Regions from separate parts of the Homo sapiens genome. Here region 2 is linked to region 1. Evidence: promoter capture Hi-C in human tissues and cell types (Jung and others, 2019). All regions are on one chromosome and are shown on one strand. The core of a region is centred on a gene start or on the middle of the fragment in contact, and the rest is flanking DNA. Distances in the headings are between cores, read along the strand shown.

The links. The method cuts DNA at HindIII sites, captures the fragments that hold promoters and counts their contacts. A contact is called where the count stands out against the background at its distance.
Region 2: a contact is called between a fragment that was not itself captured here and the fragment with the promoter of FAM162B in region 1, in 3 of the 25 tissues and cell types used here (heart left ventricle, heart right ventricle and thymus).

Annotation. Positions count from the first base shown.
Region 1 is chr6:116,763,404-116,767,768 of GRCh38, reverse strand. FAM162B (family with sequence similarity 162 member B) reads left to right here and starts at 2,050. Exons shown (of 4, transcript NM_001085480.3): 1 at 2,050-2,364; 2 at 2,514-2,622. The coding sequence starts at 2,193. LOC105377963 (a long non-coding RNA gene) reads right to left here and starts at 1,401. Exons shown (of 3, transcript XR_942910.3): 1 at 1,230-1,401; 2 at 1,048-1,126; 3 at 1-703. RefSeq lists an enhancer at 2,515-3,029. The HindIII fragment of the contact is 7,101 bases long and covers 1-4,272 here.
Region 2 is chr6:116,809,716-116,814,080 of GRCh38, reverse strand. All of the region lies in intron 1 of GPRC6A (G protein-coupled receptor class C group 6 member A), which reads left to right. Among named protein-coding and RNA genes, the nearest start is that of GPRC6A, 17 kb to the left of the region's middle. The HindIII fragment of the contact is 5,660 bases long and covers 1-4,365 here.

The DNA.
Region 1 (4,365 bases), core at 801-3,300:
CTATGGATACTCCCTCTCAGTGATGTGAAGACAAATAAAATACTAATAGAAAAAACCACATTTAAATAATGCAAGAATCTTCAAGTACCATAATGCTGGAGCAATATTAGCTATGGCAACATACTTTCTCAGGCAGGAATTCATTCAGTTGAGTTTTATAAACACTTATTTGGAGACCGCTATGTGGTAAGCAACATGATAGACACTGAAAGTATGAAGTTTAAAAGGACATAGAATGTCCTCAAGCATCTCAGTCTTTTCGTAAACTAGCCTAGGTGCAGACTATTCTGTTTTCGAAGACTTGTATTCATCTATTCATTTATTTAACAAATACTTATTAAATATCTACTAAGTGCCAATTTTTCAGCTATATCTTGGGAATATAATCACAACTCCTGAAGGTCAGGGAGCTCCTAGTTCCCCACAGGAGATTTCATAAATTAAAATGCCCTTGTGTTTTGGGACTAAAGAATGTGACGGGGAAAGAAATCATTATCTTCTGAAGTATTATTACACACCAGGCACATTTAGAAGGACATTGCTAACCATGGTTTCTAAATATCTTCTCACTCTACTCCTGCTTATTCTTTTTCACCTTGTTTTATTTTTCTTCATCTTCACCTGATGTCATCACTGCTCCATCCCCAGCTCTGAGAGGTAGCTGGCACGTAGCTGGTTACTGGTAGTCATTGCATGAATAAACCTAAAAGATAGGAATTCTGGTTTTACAAAAGAGACCAAGACTTATAACTTAAATGATTTACTGCTCATGATTGTGCAACTTTTAAGTCACAAATCCGGGATTTAAACCTAGGTGTGAAGGCAAAGCCCATGTTCCTTCTGCAAGCGCTCCTCTAAATGTATGTCTTCACAGAGCTATTAACCCCTCTTTTTTTGTTTAACACGGTTATGTAAAAAGAAAAAAAAACTGAGCTGGCAGTTACAGAAAAGTTATAGCTTTCAAGAGCCTGACAGTCTAGTTAGGAAGCAAAATATCTAGAAATCCAACAAGTGCAAAGCAGTGTCTAGATAAGGAGGGAAACTCACAGGCAGTAATAGCAGAGGAGGGTGAGCTCGGCCTGGTGCTGGGCTGATGAGCACTTTGACTTGGCAGGAGGTCTGTTGTCTGTGGAACAAGATAAGTAAATTGCTTGTACAACCCTTCTCTCCAATCATTGAATCTGAATCCCTGTTACCATTTAATGCCTGAAAATAGTAGATTCTTTTACCTTTTAGCATAGAGGAGATGGTGGAAGGTGACAGAAGAAAGGCACATTTTGAAGGGAGTGTGGAGAGTTTGTGGGCTAAGAGATGAAGAGGTAGGAAGCTGGCATGGCGGCTCATACGTGTAATCCCAGTGCTTTGGGAGGCAGAGCCCAGCTGATAGCTTGAGGCCAGGAGTTGGAGACCAGTCTGGACAACATAGTGAGATCCCATCTCTTAAAAAAAAAAAAAATAGCGGAGCGTGCTGGCGCACGACCAAAGCCCTAGCTACTCTGGAGGCTAAGGTGGGAGGACTACTTGAGTCCAGGAGTTCGACGTTACAATGAGCTATCAGCATGCCACTGCACTTTAGCCTGAGTGACAGAGCCAGAGACTGTCTCTGAAAAGAAGAAGAAAAGATAGAGAAAGGCACTTGGAGGAATTGAGATTGTTTTCCGTAGGAAAGAGAAAAGGTATGGGGGTGGGAGACGATGAGGTGAGGAGCTAACTTCAAGAAATCTCATCCAGAAGTTAGTGGAGTGCCCTTAACACTTAATTGGGAAATGTCTTCAGTTTCCTGCACTTGAAGGATTGTTGTCTCTTCCTGGAAGAGAGGATTTAGATTTATTCTCCTGGGGAACAAACGATGGAATCAAAGGCTAAAAGCCTGGCGGGAATACATTTCTACTCAATACAAAGAATTTAAAAGGAGCTACACGCACTGCCTCAGGCGGTGGTGAGCCTGTTTCAAACAGAGGCAGGCTGCTTCCTGAGGAACCAGCCCCTCGGGGCTTGACGCCCTGATCCCGGGTCGCTGGCCGGGGGCGGAGACGGGGATAGCGAGCTGAGTGTGCGAGCGCCAGGGGTTCCAGCTGCACGTCCCAGGCTCTCCAGCGCGCGGCAGGCCGGGGCGGGACGAGGAGAGCTGCGGGGACAACGCCTGTGGCTGGGTCCGGAGGTGCGGGTGCGGCGCGGGACAAGCGGGCAGCATGCTCAGGGCGGTCGGGAGCCTACTGCGCCTTGGCCGCGGGCTAACAGTCCGCTGCGGCCCCGGGGCGCCTCTCGAGGCCACGCGACGGCCCGCACCGGCTCTTCCGCCCCGGGGTCTCCCCTGCTACTCCAGCGGCGGGGCCCCCAGCAATTCTGGGCCCCAAGGTCACGGTGAGCCAGGGCTCCGACGGGGAGGTCCTGGGAGGGAGGAGGTTGCGGGAGGGCAGCGAGGGGCCGGCCCGGGAGTCGGCTTGAGGGCGCGCTGATCCTCTGTGCCGGTGCGTCAGTTCCCGCGTCCATCTGGGTTGCTTTCGCTGCAGGGGAGATTCACCGAGTCCCCACGCAGCGCAGGCCTTCGCAGTTCGACAAGAAAATCCTGCTGTGGACAGGGCGTTTCAAATCGATGGAGGAGATCCCGCCTCGGATCCCGTAAGTGTGGCGACCGCCGCGCGAAGGAGAGTCGGTCCCCGGCCGCAAGGGTGCGGGGTGACCCACCTTCCGACCGCGGCCACCTAGGAGCGAAAGCGGCCGCAGTGCCAACACTTCGCAATATCACCCACCACACACGGAGTTTACCCACACACACACCCCGCCTCCAGTGCGGTGTGTCAAGAGTCAATTAAGCTTACAGGGAGATTGCAGAAGGTGGGTGAAAACTGAGAGGTTCAGGGGACACTTCCAGCACCGCCCAGATTGCCGGTCCCCAGCAAGCTCCGAACTGGGAGGCAGTGGGGCTCTTGTGCCAAACAGGCCACGGTCCTCGCGAGCATCCGGATGGCTGCCGGGACGCCAGACCGCAATCCAGGCTTTGGCCGGGGGCGTCCCCCTACCCCACCCAAGGAAGGGGTTCTCTGATCTTGGCTTGCGGGGCGGCTGTGGCGGGGGGGTCTCTGGAAAAAAGACGCATCCATGCGGCCTCCTCTTCTGGGGCAGGAGACGCCTGGCGGACGTGTTTCTGCAGCCCTCTAGGCTCCGGGTTTACTCAGGGTGGGACGCGCGGGAGTGTCAGCACTGTGGGCCTCTTCAGCATGCTAAACCCACCAAGACAGATGATAAAACTCAAACTAATAACTCCCCCTCTAAGGTAATGTAACCTGTAAAATAAATGCTAATAATAAGTAAATGTAACCTGTAAAAAAATCTTTCCAAAGTTTCTGTTTCTGCCAAGCCCAAAAACCTTCGCAGCATTTTTACAAGGGATTGGGTAAAAAAGAGAGGGACGGAAACTAAAAATAAAATCAATCTACTACTTTTTAAGTTTATCTTTTAAAAATAAAAGACTAAAACCATAACGTGAAAGAAGGATTTTAGATATTCTGTATATTTGTACAATGTAATGAATGCCTATTAGAATGGATAATGGAAACTGGGCCTATATTTCTGTTTTTCACATGGTGCCTGCCATGTTATTGTTTATAAACAATTGCAGTTTATCAGTTACCAAAGCATCTCAGATAGCTAGGGGGTGGGGTGGGAGAACATGGCAGGAAATGTACACTCAGTAATGAATTCTGAAGCATTTTCGTTCTTTTATTGGAGCAAGTCACCAAATGAGAAATGGACATGGAATTTGAAATAACACTGCATTTGAATCCGTTTTCAGTATTTATTCAACTACAGAGGCACTTTCTAAGATTATTTTTCCTCGAGATCTATAGACTCCAAACTACAGACTTAGCTGAAAGCAAAAGTTAGCCTCAGAAAAGTCTTTATCATCATAAGCTCTGGTTATCAAATTTTAATTGATGCCTGAAAATTTAATACTATAAATGCCAAAGAAGTAAAAAAAAAAAAAAAAATTAAAATAAGTAAGCCACCACCCTCAATTGGTTTGAATTTTTATTTCTAGTGGCCTAACCAAGTAATCAAGAGTGTAAAGAACCAACATTATTGCATATTGTTTGTCAAGAAAACCTATGCCCAGTATTGCATTTAACATAGCTGTATTTGTGAACAGACTCATTTTACAGAAATAATGTAATTTCCCCAAGATCATAGTCAAAAGATGTATTATAAACAGGAGCATTTCACTAAGAACAGGATGCCTATAAAAAGCATTGCAGTTTTGCATTGGAAACATAAAAGTATTTGAGTATTTTTCATTTTATTATTTTTCTATAACTTTTTAAGCATTACTATTTAAGAGAGATATTCCTGTTAAGCTAAGTGTCA
Region 2 (4,365 bases), core at 1,289-3,788, 46 kb before region 1:
TCCATTCTAGCTGGTGTGAGATGGTATCTCACTGTGGTTTTGATTTGCTTTTCTCTGATGACCAGGAATGATGAGCATTTTTTCATGTGTCTGTTGGCTGCATACATGTCTTCTTTTGAGAAGTGTCTGTTCATATCCTTCACCCACTTTTTGAAGGGGTTGTTTTTTCTTGTAAATTTGTTTGAGTTCTTTGTAGATTCTAGATATTAGCCCTTTCTCAGGTGGGTAGATTGCAATAATTTTCTCCCATTCTGTAAGTTGCCTGTTCACTCTAATGGTAGTTTCTTTTGCCATGCAGAAGCTCGTTAGTTTAATTAGATCCCATTTGTCTATTTTGGCTTTTGTTGCCATTGCTTTTGGTGTTTTAGTCATGAAGTCCTTGCCCATGCCTATGTCCTGAATGGTACTGCCTAGGTTTTCTTCTAGGGTTTTTATGGTTTTAGGTATAACATTTAAGTCTTTAATCCATCTTGAATTAACTTTTGTATAAGGTGTAAGGAAGGGATCCGGTTTCAGCTTTCTGCATATGGCTAGCCAGCTTTCCCAGCACCATTTATTAAACAGGGAATCCCTTCCCTGTTTCTTATTTTTATCAGATTTATCAAAGATCAGATGATTGTAGATGTGTAGTATTATTCCTGAGGCCGCTGTTCTGTTCCATTGGTCTATATCTCCTTTTTGGTACCAGTACCATGCTGTTTTGGTTACTGTAGCCTTGTAGTATAGTTTGAAGTCAGGTAGCACAATGCCTCCAGCTTTGTTCTTTTTGCTTAGGATTATCTTGGCAATGTGGGCTCTTTTTTGGTTCCATATGAACTTTAAAGTAAGTTTTTCCAATTCTGTGAAGAAAGTCATTGGTAGCTTGATGGGGATGGCATTGAATCTATAAATTACCTTGGGTAGTATGGCCATTTTCATGATATTGATGCTTCTATCCATGAGCATGGAATATTCTTCCATTTGTTTGTGTCTTCTTTTATTTCATTGAGCAGTGGTTTGTAGTTCTCCTTGAAGAGGTCCTTCACATCCCTTGTAAGTTGGATTCCTAGGTATTTTATTATCTTTGAAGCAATTGTGAATGGGAGTTCACTCATGATTTGTCTCTCTGTTTGTCTGTTATTGGTGTATAGGAATGCTTGTGATTTTTGCACATTGATTTTGTATTCTGAGACTTTGCTGAAGTTGCTTATCAGCTTAAGGAGATTTTTGGCTGAGATGATGGGGTTTTCTAAACATACAGTCATGTCATCTGCCAACAGGGACAATTTAACTTCCTCATTTCCTAATTGAATACCGTTTATTTCTTTATCTTGCCTGATTGCCCTGGCCAGAACTTCCAACACTATGTTGAATAGGAGTGGTGAGAGAGGGCATCCTTGTCTTGTGCCAGTTTTCAAAGGGAATGCTTCCAGTTTTTGCCCATTTAGTATAATATTGACAGCCAGTCTATGTCTCTTAAGAGGGGAATTTAATCCTTTTAAATCCAAGGTTAATGTTGACATATGAGGCTTTGTTCCTGTCATGTTCTTGCTTACCGTTTGTTTTATATATTCTATGTTGTTTTCTTTTTCTCATTTTTTGTCATTGTGGTTTGGTAGATGAATATCTACAGTAGTATCATTTGAGTCCTTCCTCTTTTTTACCATTGTTTTACACTTTCTTGTGTTTTCACCATGATAAGCATCATCATTTCACTTCCAAGTATAGAACTCCCTTGAGCATTTTAGGGCCAGTCTAGTGGTGCTGAATTCCCTCCGCTTTTGCTTCTCTAGGAACAACTTTATTTCTCCTCTATTTATGAAGGATAAGTTTTCTGGATATAGTATCCTTGGCTGGCAGGGTTTTTTCCTCAACACTTTAAATATATCATCTCATTCTCTTCTGGCCTATAAGGTTTCTGCTGAGATATCCTCTGTTAGTATAATGGGATTTCCTTTAGAGGTGACTAAATTCTTTTCTCACTGTTTTTAGAATTCTCTCTTTGTCATTGACTTTAGACATTTTGACTATAATGTGCTGTGGAGAATTTGTGCATTGTATCTGTTTAGGGATTGCTGGGCCTCCTGTATCTGGATGTCTAAACCTCTTGCTGGATGTGGAAAGTTTTTATCTATTATTTTGTTATATATGTTTAACTATTTCAATATCTCTTTACCTTCTGGGATATCAATAATTTGTATATTTGGTCACTTCATGGTGTTCCATATACCATGAAGGCTTTGTTTAGCTTTTTTTAATTCTTTTTTTTTCCTTTATATTTTCATGGCTGGGTTATTTCAAAAGTTGAACCTGAACTGTCTTCAGGTTCAGAGGTTCTTTTGTCTGCTTGAACTAATCTATTGTTGAAGCTTTCAAATGTGTTATGTTGTTCATTCAATGAATTGTTCAGTTGCAGAATTTCTGTTTGATTCTTTTATGACATCTATGTCTTTGGTAAACTTCTCATTCATATCCTGAATTGTTTTTCAGATTTCTTTGTATTGTTTTTCAGAATTATCTTGTATCTCACTATCCTTCTTTAGAATCTAATTTGGATTCTTTTTCTGGAATTTCATTAATTGCTTTTTGATTGAGATCTGTTTCTGGAGAATTATTGTGTTCCTTTTTTAAAAAATTTATTTACATTTTTTTTCTTAAAGACCAGTATGATAGTATATCTTCCTTTAAAAGTGTCATTTTCCTGGCTTTTTCATGTTTCCTGTGTTCTTATGTTAATATATATACATCTGATGTTTCAGTTGCTTCTTCCAATTTTTAAAAATTTGTTTTTGTAGGGGGAGAATGTTTCCTAAGGATGAATAGATAGTGTTGGTTGGGCAGGGTCCTTTGGCTTTTATTCTGGTTGCAGTAGTAGTGTAGTTTCTTTGATTTTTTTGGCCATGACTGGCATAAGTGCCATCTGACATTTCCTCAGTGGCCTAGGTACAGTTATTAATGGGAGCTATGATGCAGTTTTGCTGGTGACTGGGATGCCAAGTAAGCCAGTCTCTGAGCCCAAGTGGTGTTAGCAATGGGCTAAGTATGCCCATCATTGTGTCCCAGGGCAGTATACACTGGCACCAGTGTTAGGTCAAACCAGGCCAATTCTTGGGCCTCCAGGTGCCTTACTCAAATACTGATAGTGGAAGCCATGGAACCAGCAGGTTGGTGATTTCTTGGGTTCTTGGGACACTTGTGTGGCATGCATGATGGCAACGGCAGTGACAGGATGACCCTCTAAGTCCTGAGTGGTGCTGGCTAATGTTGGTTGTGCCAATGATGAGCTGGGCTTACTTCTCTTTTTTAATTGAAATTGTAATGTTAAAATTAAAATTTTAATTAAATTAAAATTTCTTAATTAAATTTAAAATTTTAATAAAGAGGGATATTATTGTTCAGGGTTTTGATATACTTTCTTTTTAGTTCATTATGTTTTGATAAATTAAGCTATTTGAATATTACTATTTGTCATTGCAAGCCATGGTTCACAATGACAAATAGTAATCTTCAAATAGTTTAACTTACTAATATATTTTTATTATTATTTACTTTATTCTTTTAGGGAGGGGAGAAGAGTATCTGGCCAAGAAGCAACAAGTGCAAAATTGGAATGTCCAAAGAATAGCAAAAAATTTAATCTGGCTATATCAGTGAAGCAGAAGGAAACATAGTAAGAGATGCATTTGTAGAGATAGAACCATCTAAACATGGTTCACAATGACAAATAGTAATATTCAAATAGCTTAATTATCAAAACTTAATGAACTAAAAAGAAACTAGAATATCAAACCCTGAACAATAATATCCCCCTTTATTCATTTTAAAAATGTGTATTGAACCCTTATTATATATTAGGCACTATTTGTAATAACTTGTATATAGTGGTGGATGAAATAAACTTAACAGTAAATCTGTAATCAGACAACTCAGTGCTCTGGAATAATCACAAATCAAGATGTATAAAAAATGTACTCTGAATGTGGAAATAGCTATGTCTCAGAACTAAAATAAGACACTTTATCTAGGAGCAGGCTGTTAAGCTTTAACCAAAGCTGTTTAAATGTAATTCTTAAGAGTCTTATTTATCTGGTTTCCAATCACACAGACTAGAATCAGAAAACTAAAAGACAGGCTTATGAGTCTAAAAAGCAAGCATTTTGACAGCAATAAAATGCTGATCTCTAACTACAAAAAGGAACAAAAATCAAACACATCTTCATATTGCAGTGTTCAAAATGATCAAAAAATTCACCAAGAAAAGGTTAAATCCTGTAGCATAGACTCCTTTTAAGAAACTGTGGGTTCTTATATTACCCTTCATAAATATTATCATGAAAAATTGTTTTTAAATAAAATTTAGATCATTTAAGAGATAAGCTTCACTCA